Linked DNA regions of Homo sapiens: regions 1, 3 and 4 are each linked to region 2. Evidence: promoter capture Hi-C in 16 types of primary human blood cells and fetal thymus (Javierre and others, 2016). All regions are on one chromosome and are shown on one strand. Each heading gives the region's core, a stretch centred on a gene start or on the middle of the fragment in contact. The rest is flanking DNA. Distances are from core to core; before and after follow the strand shown.

Region 1 (3,240 bases), core at 81-2,580, 300 kb after region 2:
GGTTTTGTACATGTCCTCTCACAGAAGGCAAACCTTGGCCCAGGGGATGGCCTCTTTATCTTGGTTGGATTTCACAGATGGATTGGGGTTTTTAAAAGATCAGGCCCCGTCCCCCTGGGTCCCTCCGTACAGAGGTCCGTCATGACCCATGTAACGCTTCACTGGCTTTACTTGTTTCCTTCACCAGATCAAAGTCTCTGAGAGCAGCACTGAATAGTTCATGTTGCCAGGGCTTAGAACACAGCCTGTCGTATAGCAAATACTCAGTTAATGCATCTAGAGTGAATGCATGTGTGCATGACTGCAGTGAGGCGGCACTCAGCCTACTCACTGATTGCCCACGCCCAAAGGCTACCTCACAGAAAGAAGTGGCTACTACATAGCCCCAGCTGGCTAGCATGCAAGCCCCTGCCAGGCCCAGTGCAAAGTGTGTGTGTGTGTGTGTGTGTGTGTGTGTGTGTGTGTGTCTGCACACATGCACGTACAAGGTTTCCACACTCCCAGCAGCCTGGGGCAGGAGTATCTCTTACCGTGGTGTATTTACCCAGCTGGCAGAGTGAAGGGAAAGTTTCCTGGTGAGCTTTTCGGATCTTCTCTGTGAGATCGTCCAACTCAGCTGTCATTTCATAGCTCTCTGTGCATTCTTGCTTCGAAGTCTCCTTCTTTTTCTTGTTCCTGTCATTCCTGACAGCTGGAAACGAGAGAGAAGGCACATCAGGGGTCGCTGAAGGCTGGGCCTGTGCTCCTGAGCTGGGAGGTTCCACCTCCCAAGGCTGCCTTAAGCTCATTTGATATTTGGGACAGAAACAGTGGGAAGAGGTGGTAATAACACACCTCCCTGGAAAAGGGATTTGGCAGCCGCGGGACCCCGGCAGAGAGCTAGGTTTGTCTTTCTGTATATGCATGTGCCCGTCAGTTGTTTGGAGAGCTTGGGCTCACCCAGGAGGCTCAGAGTCTTGGCTTGTTGTGAGAGAACTTTTTCTGTGGACTGGATCTCTTGAAGAGAGAAGGATTTTTCCAAGAGCTTTACCCTCAAATGGGATGCCCTGAGTGACATTGTAAGGGAAGGGTCAGGTCTCTGAACAAAGCCCCGTTACTTCATAATTAGTATTTCCTAGCTACACATTTTGGTGTCTTTGCTTTTTAGTTTTCTGAATTAAGTGACAGGCACTTTTGAAGAAACTCATCTGAGAGGAGATAAGGATGATGGTTTTTGTCCCTTCGTGTTTTTCTGCTTTCTAAACTTTCTGTATGAACCATATTATCTGTTTTGGAATATAAAATTACTTAAAAATAATAATTGATACAGTATGAAATCTTCAGCCTGGAAAACCATTCATTCCCTTATTCGCTGGTAGCCACTTGACTCCACGTTGTGTCTGGAACACTGGACCCACAGCAGGTGTGTGTCCTTTCCCTCTGCATGCTCCGAGCCAAGCACGGTGCCAGGCACAAAGTCAGGGCCCAGGACACAGTGCTATGGAAGCCCGTGCTTCCTCCTGCAGCACAGACCTCTGGGATGACTTCAAATCCGAGTGTAACTCAAAGCTCTAGCCCCTGGCTAGGATCTCGCGAGGAAAGAAACTGAAACCCAGGGAGGCAGACAGGCGAAACAGACCATGCCACCCCCTCCAGGGAGTCCATGTTCTCTGGGGCCCAGCGGGTGCCAGGCTGGATGCTGCCTGGCTGTGCATGCCACCACTGTGACCTGGGAATCTGCACTGCAAAATGACCCAGGGCATAATCTGATCTGCCCTAAGAGGATCTGGCCTGAGTTGCCTCCCTAAGAGCACACGGGTGATTTGAGAACTGGCAGTTCCCTGGGTCCACACCATGAGAATACCCATATTTGGGGTAGGAGCTGAGGGCAGAGTAAGACAATAGCAGGAGGAGAGAGGAAGTGGTGAAAGGAAAGAGCAAGGGGTGAGAAGGGGGAAGAAAGGAAAAAAGGGAGGTGAGTCCTACTACAAAGTCAGTGTCTGTACGAGCCACTCCTACCTAACCAGGAGGGAGGGCAGCTGGGGAGACCAGGAACATTTTTTTGAGTCCCTTGAACATGGTATCACGGTATCTCACTTGATCCTTTTATCAGGTAGGCAAGTTTAAACCCATTTTACAGATGAAGAAACTGAGTCTTGGAGAAGCTAAGAAATATGCTCAAGTTCACGTGGTTGAGAAGTTCCTTCCTCACTTGGACTCACTTACTTATTCCTAAGGAAACCAACAGGTCTGAAGAGAACACCCTTCTAGACAGTTTCCTTCCCCCAGGACTCTGAAATGACACTGCTCATTGGCTCAGAAAATTTCTAGATCACTGGTGAAATGAGTGGGAAGTGCAGCCTCAGCTGTATTCTTTCCCAGTGCAGACTGGCCCCTCGAGACCTCTGTGACCCGATCCCTCCCAGCCGGCGCAGGACGCTGGGTGAGAGTGGGTATCATGGTTCAAAGCAGAGAGAATGCAAAGAAGCCGGCGGGCAAAGGAGACACAATGAGGGGGAAAGGGGTCATGCAGGGTGGCAGAGGCGGCATGGTGGCTCTCCGTGAGGATGGAGTCTGGGCTGCTGAGGGGAGGGAATGCCTGAAGGCTTGTGTGTGAGTGCGCAGGATCTCAGGTGATCAGACCCCCCTCTTTTCCTCGGCCTCTGCCAATGGCCTTCCTTAGCTAGTGAAAAAGTCAAATCTAAGCAGGGAGGGTCCTTCTGAAACAGAGCCCCGAGGAAGAGTACTCGGCAGTTTTTCTCAAAGTTATACGCAGAGGTACCATGTGACGCAGCAATTCCTCTCCTAGGTGTACACCCAAGAGAACTGAAAATATGTGTCTATGCAAAACTTGTCCATGAATGTTCATGACAGTGTGACTCACGGCAGTTGAAAAGTGGAAAGAACCCAAATGTTCATCACCCGATGACGGGGAAGTGGAATCTAGGACGTCCTTATGGTGGAATATTATTTGTCATAGAAAGGAATGAATTATGGATGCATACTACAACACAGATGAAGCTTTCACACATACGCCTTAAAGAAGCCAGTCGCAAAAGGCCACACATTGTGTGATTCTAAATTATATGGATGTCCAGAACAGGCCAATCCAAAGACAAAAAGTAGACTCGTGGCTGTCAGGTACGGGGGCAAGTTGGTGGGGAGGGAGGATCGGGAGTGCTAACGGGTTCAGGGTTTTGTTTTTTAGGAGATGAAAATGTTCTGGACTTACTGGTGAAGGCTGCACAACTTAGTGGATCC
Region 2 (3,125 bases), core at 363-2,862:
TCTTGGGTTTTCCCCTATCTTCCTTTTTAAAAGTATTTCCTTCAATATGTTAAATGAATAGAAGAGGCTTTTGCTGAATCCCTGCAAAAACATACTAAATGACTGAGACTAGAGCAAATATACCTCCTGAATTAAAGTACAGAAATAGCCTTCAGAGAGAATAATAGCCTAATAATATAGGAGATGTTGAAGACTGAAAACACTAAGTCTTAGGGCTCTTATACGAAAGGCATGTGGCAGGGAATCTTTGTTTTTCACCGTGAAGGGGAAAAATTCAGATTTTAGGCATAAATATACCTCCATCCTGATGGGAAGGAGACACCAATGGGAGCAAGTTAATAAAATTAAAACCTAAAAAGGACTGGGTAGAAGTGGGGTCAAGATAGGAAAGCCAAACATTCAGGTTTCCTCTGCATTCGCATCAATTATCTGTACGTCAAGTGGTAAAGGCAGCAGCTACGGAAGCTAAGCTAACAGTTATTGCCGGGCGCGGTGGCTCATGCCTGTAATCCCAGCACTTTGGGAGGCCGAGGCGGGCACATCATGAGGTCAGGAGATCGAGACCATCCTGTGAATGGTGAAACTCCGTCTCTACTAAAAATACAAAAAATTAGCCAGGCGTGGTGGCGGGCACCCGTAGTCCCAGCTACTCAGGAGGCTGAGGTGGGAGAATGACGTGAACCCGGGAGCAGAGTTTGCAGTGAGCCAAGATTGCACCACTGCACTCCAGCCTGGGAGACAGAGCGAGACTCCTCTCAAAAAAAAAAAAAAAAAAAAAAACAGTTATTAGAGGTAGTTCAAAGGCCTGGAGGCCAAACTTTGAAAGCAGAGGTGATGAAAGTCTTGGGTACCAGGGATCAAGAGCAAGTCAAGCATCTGAAACACAAAAAGGTCAACGCAGAGGTAAAGAGGACAACAGGATTTCAGTGGCCAAAGTACACATGAATACAGAATTGTGAATGTCATATGGAGCAAAACACTGGCAACAAGAATAAGAATGCAAGAATGTCTGATTTGTGAAAGAATCATGATATGTTATGAAAATTGATACTTTCTGATTTCTTCTATACATCTTACTAATTATAAATTATTCTGAGTTGACCAGTAAATGCAGAAAGTATTTAAACCAGCCAGAGCCCAGGAGTGTTCTGGATACAGGTGAGCTCTGTTGGCATCTGGAACAGAAGAACTGGATGTGGCAGATTGCACCTTCCAAAGATGATCACCATAGTATCTCCTATCTAATACGCTGTTCCGCAATATGACTTTGACATTTCCTCATCAAGAAGTGGAGTCTTATTACCTTACTCTGGGCTTGGCTTTACTGGCTTGTTGAACCAGCAGAATATGACAGAAGTGACACTCCAACCTCTGAAAAGACTGTAAAAACACCTTGCAATTTCTACCTGAGCCTCTTAAAAGGATCACTCTTGGGATGCTGTCTCTGAGGACTGTGGCCATATGAAAGGTCTCAGCCACATGAAAAGGTTATTGGTTGGTGTTCAGGCATGTAGCTCCAGCAGAACTCCTAGGAAACAGTCATCATCAACTGCCAGCCATGCCACATTCCAACTCAACTGAACCTTTAGACGAATGTAGCCCTAGCCTCTATTTGACTTCAACTACAAGAGAGATGCCAAGCTGAGACCAGTTAAGCCACAGAACTGTGAGATATAAAAATAAATTGTTATTTTAAGCCATGTGTTTCAAGGCGGCTTGCTATGTAGCAATAGATAATCAGTACCTAGGGTTACAGGGATGATTTTTTAAATTATCTCTATCTATGGCTAGTAATACTGGGGCCATGACACTTACAGTTATCAACTCCAGCAGACTCAGAAATTCACTCAGCTCCCCTACTCCACCCTTTTTGGTTCTCCAATAAAATGTTTGGTGATGGATGGCTCTGGAAGTTAAATGAGACTTGGTATTACCTGGGAAATTTTGATTTGCAGCAACTCCACAATGACTATTATTGCACATAACTGAGATGTGACTAGAGCCTGGAACAACTGAAAACGCAGAAAAGTCTGTATTATAAGACCAGGGTGGAGAGCAAGTACTGAAGATAACTGAGTGATCACTAAAATACATCAGAGAATCCACACTCTCGTGATAAGTGGCATTTGAAGGGAGAAATTTTCCAGAGAGATAAATGAGACCTTTCTCAATTAATATCAGTACTTGTGTTGCTTGTTATATTGTTGCATTTCCTCCTGAAATATTACAGGCACCAGGCTATTTCACTTACCTCCAAACCTTCAATTGTTTAGTCTCTGTTAATGCAAGGTCATAATGCAGAACACAGATCCTCAGTTTACAGTCAATCCTCAATTATTCAAGGCTTATGGAGTTACAGCGCAGTCCAGTAGATCTCTGCTTAAATATTGGTTTCATTGACATTTGGACACATCTGGAAATTCAGTCTGCTTAATTTTGATTTTGCTGACATCACAACTCAGTTATTTGAACTCTAAATACCTAATCACCTCTAGTGCAAGTTTGAGCTAGATGGACGGCAGGAGAGAAGTAAACATTTATAGATTGTCTTTTGCATTTTACATACATTATCTAATTTAGTCCCCACAGCAATTCAATGAGATATTACTATCCTTATTTCATAGAAAATGAAACTCAGGCTCAGAAAGTTCAACTTAAGTTTGCTTCCTTCCCCATTTTGTTGCTTAACAATATAATTAAGAGAATAGACTCTAGAATCAAACAGACTGGAATTATCTTTTTATCATAATATGTTTTTATTAAAATGAGTTTTTAAATGTATAGTTTATCTGTTTTTATATCTGGCAGTTTCTCTATGATTTAGCTTTCAGAAAAGTCATATTGTTCTCAAATGACCTAGCTTTTACCTTCGTTAACTCAAACCTGCACCCATCTGAAGTGAAACCAGCAACCATTTAACAGCAAACAGTAGCAGCAGCATGCACCAAAAGAGAATGGAAAGTGAAAAGAACACAACAGATCATTTTAAAAGGTACATGCCCTAGAATTTTTTGACAATGTTTGAGCGTGGTTCTCAAAACTACAATTCTATAAGTCAGTGAATGCTGAGTTTTATTTGGAAAGCATGGTCCCACCTTGTATAAAGAGAAAAAGCAGCCCTAGAA
Region 3 (2,939 bases), core at 426-2,925, 260 kb after region 2:
TGCCCAATTAAAATATTGGAATTAATGGTAGCATTATGAATACCTGATTTTTGAGTAGCAAAATGTAAAATACCATTTATTACTCATACTACTTTTTTTTTTTAAAGTTGCTTTGTTGATTTATTGTCTACATGCTCTACTTTTACTTCAGTGGTCTAAGTCAGAATTAGAACTCTTAAGAACAAGTGTGGTAAATTAGCTGCCTAAAAGAATTTAGAATTTTTTAGTGCTATTTTTCTAGGCTCCCTCAACGATCTTTCAAGTGCTGCAATGTGAGTCTTCCTTTTTTTGTGCTTTCCGTATATTGTTCATTAATTAGTTTTTTTGCACATTGTTTCCTGCTGAGTTATAATTTATTTAAAAATTATTCATTAAAAATGAAGCCATCATATATTAAAAGAAAAATTATTCCTAATATTATTGATATCCTGATATTGCTTTAAATTTGGTCACTAATATAGTGAAACACAGGAAACTTTTGTGGTTATGCCTGTACATTTCCTCACTATTGAAAAGTCGTCATTCAAAACAACCCTAGCAAAAAATACTCTTTCACTTTTAATTTATCATCTTATTTTATTATTTGACAATTAATGAAATAGGTCCAAACAACTTATTTAAATTCTGGATGTATTTATTTTTAACATTTAAAAAGATTTAGACTTAAATTTCATGTCTCTCTGTATCATTTAAAGTCTAATGATAACATTAATTGAATATCTATTGTACACTGGCACAGCCTTCTATGTAATGCTTAGAGTGACCCTCACCACAACTTCAAATGAATGAGGTTATCATTAACCTGTATTATACAGATAAGGATCCTGAAGCTTGGAGAGGTTAAGTCACTTTCTTAGGAATTATATCATTATAGAATTACTCATCTTCTCAGACACCCACTTTCCTCATCTATAAAATGGGGATCACAGGATTTTTTAAATGCCTAGCACATGGTGGATGCTCTATAAATTATCTGGCTTTTTTGTTTTTTTTTTTTGAGACATGGTCTTGCTCTGTCACCCAGGCTGGAGTGCAGTGGTACAATCATGGCTCATTGCAGCCTCAACCACTTGGGCTCAAGCAGTCCTCCTACCTTAGTCTCCTGAGTAGCTGGGACATGTGTGCCACCACATCTGGCTAATTTTTGCATTTTTGTGTAGAGATGAGGTTTTGTTATGTTGCCTAGGCTGGTGTCAAACTCCTGGGCTCAAGTGATCCACCTACCTCAGCCTCACAAAGTGCTGGGATTACAGGTGTGAGCCACTGCAACTGGCCTCTGTTATTTCCTGAGGATACATAACTAGTAAGTGGAAGTGCAGTTGAAATCCAGAACTATCTGATTTCAAAGCTTGGGTAATTTCTATTAAACTGTTGTGCTACAAAGATCTTTTAAAAAAATCTCTAAAGAAATGTCATTTTTTCCTTGTGCCTTTCAAAGCTTATTTTAAGGAATAATTCTGGTAAATGCAAAATCTAGGATATTAATCATGATTATATCCTAATTTATCATTACATAGACCTGCCTGAGTTCAATCTAATTATATTGGCACTTTTAACTTCTCATACTTTCTGACTTTAATTTACATTTAGGAGGTTTTTTTTCATATTTTCTATTACGACTAAAGCAATAGAAAAAAATAACTTCATACTTATTAGCAGAACTGCCTTTGTATATGATTTGCTAGGATTTTGATGATACTAGGTTATCAGAGGTCTTGATTCCATAATATATCACGGGATCCAAGAATTGGCAGAGACTTCTCAGGTCATTTAGTCACTATTGCCCCCTCGTATTACAAATGGGAAACTAGTTAGATGAATTGGGATTACAATCCAGGTCTTCTGATTTAGAATTCTTTATTTTTTTTCCATTATTTAATCTTGAATTAGATAAGTTAAAAGGAAAGCTTTATTCTTTACTGAGTGAATAACATTTGTTTCAGTATTTTATGAAGTAGTGATTATCTTTTCTAAGAAGTTGTTTATGTTCCTTCTGCCTTATGATTATACTTTAGAAAGTGGAATCTCAAGAACGAGAAGATGTTCTGGCTGGAATGTCTGGAAAAGCAATTAAAGGTAAAGTTGGCAAACCTAAGGTGAAGAAACTCCAGTTGGAAGAGACAATGCCCTCACCTTATGGCAGAAGAATAATTCCTGAAATTACAGCTATGAAGGCAGATGCCAGCAAAAAGTTGCTGAAGAAGAAGAAGGTATGACATACCTCTTGTCATTGATAGACTCATTTCTATAATGAAATATATGTATAATTTAAAAAATTTTAATGCGTGTTTAAATCATGCTTTGTTTTATTCAAAATATATTTCAATGGTAATAGGAAATCCTTCTATGACAGCAGTTGATCTATAGAAGGAAAACATATTGGTAAAGGATCACATATTGTAAAGAGCTACTTAATTCAGCTTTTAAAATGAGAAATAGAAACACTCCACTCAGCTGCCTTCTAAGTTAAAATCTTGGAAGCCGGCCGGGCACGGTGGCTCACGCCTGTAATCCCAGCACTTTGGGAGGCTGAGGCGGGCGGATCATGAGGTCAGGAGGTCAAGACCATCCTGGCAAACATGGTGAAACCCCGTCTCTACTAAAAAATACAAAAAATTAGCTGGGCGTGGTGGTGGGCGCCTGTATCACAGCTACTTGGGAGGCTGAGGCAGGAGAATGGTGCGAACCCGGGAGGCGGAGCTTGCAGTGAGCCGAGATTGTGCCACTGCACTCCAGCCTGGTTGACAAGAGTGAGACTCCATCTCAAAAAAAAATAAATAAATAAAAATAAAAATCTTGGAAGCCAAAACAAAACAAAACAAAAACCTCCAAAAACCCAACCATAAGTATATCAACTTTAAAGTATAAACTTTAGTGCTACATCATAATCCATTAGAGAAGACTTAGAGTGGGAAAGGGTCTGTTTGGCTTACAAAGTA
Region 4 (2,928 bases), core at 375-2,874, 290 kb after region 2:
GAGAAAACTCCTCAAATGGCTTCTAGTCACCTTCAGAATAAAATCCAAACTTCTTTCTGTGGCCTCAGTGGCCTCTCCCTACCTTGCCAACTTTAACTACTCCTCCTTTCCTTTGCTCATGAACTTCTGGCCATCTTGGTCTTCTTTGTGAAGCTTCGATGACTCACTGCTGAGGCAAAGTGTTTGCACTTGCTTTTCCCTCTGGCTTCAGTGCTTTTCCCTGATCTTCACATGGCTCTTTTCTCAGAGTTCAGCTTAAATGTCACCTCCTCTAAAGCCTCAGTGAAAATGCTTCCTAAAACCCATTATTTTCTATCCCACCACCCTTTTGGTTTTTGGAATAAGAAATAACATTGTTTTAAAACTGAGGTATAACGTGTGGTGGTTTAAAAATATGTGTGCAAATTCTTTGATCCTACTCCCTTTAAGGGGTGGAGCTTAATTCCTCTCCCCTTGAGTGTGGCCTGGACTTAATGATTTGCTTTTAACAAATAGAATATGGTGAAAGTGATGGTGTGTGACTTCTGAAACTAGGTCACAAAAAGCATTGTCACTTCCTTCTTGCTTGCTGTCTCTTGAATCTCTTGCTCTGGGGAAGCTAGCTGACATTTCAAGAGGACAGTTAACCAGCCCCACGGACAGGTCCACAGAGGAAGAAACTGAGTCCTCCCATCAATAACCAGCACTAAATTCCTAGACAAATGTGATGAGCGATTGTGGAGGCGGAGAGCTTCCAGCCTCTGGAATTCTTTAGATGACTGCAGCTCTGGCCGGGGTCTTGATTGCTATTTCATGACAGATACCGAGCCAGAACCACCCAATGAAGTCAGTACCAGATTCCTGACCCACTGTGACTACGGGAGATAATAATGCTTATGTTTTAAGCTGCTAAGTTTTGTGGTATTTTGTTACACTGCAATAGATAATGAATATAGCACACATGCCTGGAGCTGCACACAAATCTCGAGTACAGCTTAAGGCATTCTCCCTAACCATGTATCTGTGCAACTACTACCTAGATCAAGATATGAATATTTCCAGCACCTACCGGCTCCTTTGACTTCTCCTAATCAAACCTCTTCCTCAGAAGTAACCATTATTTGACCTATATTCCTACAAGTTAGTTTTGCAAGTTCTTGAACTTCAGATCAATGGAATCATACAGAATATTCTCTTTTGTGTCCGCTTTTATTCACTCAATATTCTCTGTGTGATTCACCCATATGAGTGTACACAGCAATAGTTCATTCTTTTTCACTGCTGTGTAGTATTTCACAATGCAAACCACCACCCTGTTTTCTTTTCTTCATAGCAGTTGTCACCATCTGAGTTTCCTGGCCTATCTCCCTTCTAGAATATGAGCTCTGAGAATGAGACCGCTCTTTACCTGTCTTGCTCTCTGTTGTGTCTTTAATATCTAGAACAATGTCCTCCATACAGCAGGTGGTTAATGAATATTTATTGAATGAATAAACTGAATTCCTTCATCAGACTCTCTTCTATCTTGTAAACCTCAGAGGGAGGCATCAAGGGGTTGCCCAGTTTTCAGGCAAAGGAGAAAGCTCAGGTTGCTCAACCATCTTGGTCACTCTACACTGATTGTGTTTGGCAACATGTGGGCAGATCCTGATCTGATTCGACAATTTATCCCCATATGCCTGTGGGAATGTTTAGGTAGTGATACTAGTAACAATGTTTAAGTGGTGATACTAATAACAAAGACACACGCAGCGCATATAGTGCCTGTTGTGATGAGCTCATGGGAACAAAATGTTTTCCCCAATGGGACCTGTAGCCAGCCTGCCTTAACCGAGGAGAAAATACAGATGTTAGAAGCAGCAGGAGTTCCTTGTTACCGTTACTGTCTCTGTTTTGCAGACCAGTACTCTAGCAGCCATTGTTTTGCAATGTTAAGAGAAATAGATGGAATTATTTTAATAATCTATTTTAACTTAAGATATCCAAATTATTTTTGTTTCAACATGTAATCAATACAAAAAAATCATTAAGGAGATATTATACATGTTTAAATACTAAGTCTTTAAAAGACTGTTTATTTTGCAATACACACTTCACACCAGGCACATTTCAAGGTGCTCATGAGCCACAGCTGCCTCGCAGCTGCTGAACTAGACAGCACAGCCCCAGGTGCTATTGCCTAGCAGCTCAGACACCACACTTCATAAAGGCAGCCTAGGCTTACTCAAGACTGATGATTACAGCTTATTTAAAGGAACACTTACTATGTGCCAGGAACTAATTAACTCAATTCTTTATTCCAGCAACCTGAATGGGGAGGAGCTACTATTCTACTTATTCAATTGGTGAGGAAACTGAGGCTTAGAGAGGTCAGTTAGCTTCCCTAAGTTCACTCAGCTCCTAAATGGCAGAGCTGGGATTTGAATCCAGGGAGTTGGACTGCAAAGCCCACCCTCTTAACCGCTACACTGGCTACCCCACAGCAATTCCTGGTGCCTCATGGGGTAATCGTGCCACATCTACAGGTGGGTAAGCTGAGGCTAGGAGAGACCCAGGGCCTCCTCGTGATGGCACAGACGCCCAGGCGCAACGCTGAAGCCTGAGCTCAGGCTGTGGGTCTTTAAGCCCAGAGCTCGCTCCCCACCAGCCTGGGCTCTTGTCTCTACTGAGTCCCCAGGAAGGGGAGAGGGAGGGACAGGTTCACATGGGAACGGCCCTCCATGGCTATACAGCTGCACAGTCTCCAGGGCGTCAAGGAGCCACAAATCACATTTTGAAGTCACACAGGCCGTCACTTTTGCGTCACCAGAAGGAGGGTGCTGCTGTGACTGGCATGGGAATATTTTCCTTGGGGGCAGTAAGGGCAGTGGGTGGCAGGACTCAGGAAGCCGTGTGTCTTGTAGGGAAAGACATTAAATCTTGAAGCCTTAACAGGCGTGATATTCCAAA

What was found. The method cuts DNA at HindIII sites, captures the fragments that hold promoters and counts their contacts. A CHiCAGO score of 5 or more calls a contact.
Region 1: a contact is called between a fragment that was not itself captured here and the fragment with the promoter of LINC00692 in region 2, in 1 of 17 cell types (total B cells). The highest score is 5.2, in total B cells.
Region 3: a fragment that was not itself captured here is called in contact with the fragment with the promoter of LINC00692 in region 2 in 3 of 17 cell types (activated CD4 T cells, non-activated CD4 T cells and total B cells); the score reaches 8.1 in activated CD4 T cells.
Region 4: a fragment that was not itself captured here is called in contact with the fragment with the promoter of LINC00692 in region 2 in 1 of 17 cell types (naive CD4 T cells); the score reaches 5.5 in naive CD4 T cells.

Annotation. Positions count from the first base shown.
Region 1 is chr3:25,567,209-25,570,448 of GRCh38, reverse strand. It overlaps RARB (retinoic acid receptor beta), which reads right to left. Exons shown (of 8, transcript NM_000965.5): 4 at 531-691. Among named protein-coding and RNA genes, the nearest start is that of TOP2B, 96 kb to the left of the region's middle. RefSeq lists an enhancer at 1,634-2,135. The HindIII fragment of the contact is 3,344 bases long and covers 1-3,002 here.
Region 2 is chr3:25,872,182-25,875,306 of GRCh38, reverse strand. It overlaps LINC00692 (long intergenic non-protein coding RNA 692), which reads left to right and starts at 1,612. Exons shown (of 8, transcript NR_034055.1): 1 at 1,612-1,666; 2 at 2,825-2,992. It overlaps LOC124909357 (a long non-coding RNA gene), which reads right to left and starts at 1,529. Exons shown (of 2, transcript XR_007095849.1): 1 at 1,304-1,529. The HindIII fragment of the contact is 8,581 bases long and covers 1-3,125 here.
Region 3 is chr3:25,611,786-25,614,724 of GRCh38, reverse strand. TOP2B (DNA topoisomerase II beta) reads left to right here. Exons shown (of 36, transcript NM_001330700.2): 28 at 2,016-2,210. Among named protein-coding and RNA genes, the nearest start is that of TOP2B, 52 kb to the left of the region's middle. The HindIII fragment of the contact is 469 bases long and covers 1,441-1,909 here.
Region 4 is chr3:25,586,505-25,589,432 of GRCh38, reverse strand. The region is part of intron 5 of RARB (retinoic acid receptor beta); the gene reads right to left. Among named protein-coding and RNA genes, the nearest start is that of TOP2B, 77 kb to the left of the region's middle. The HindIII fragment of the contact is 2,938 bases long and covers 156-2,928 here.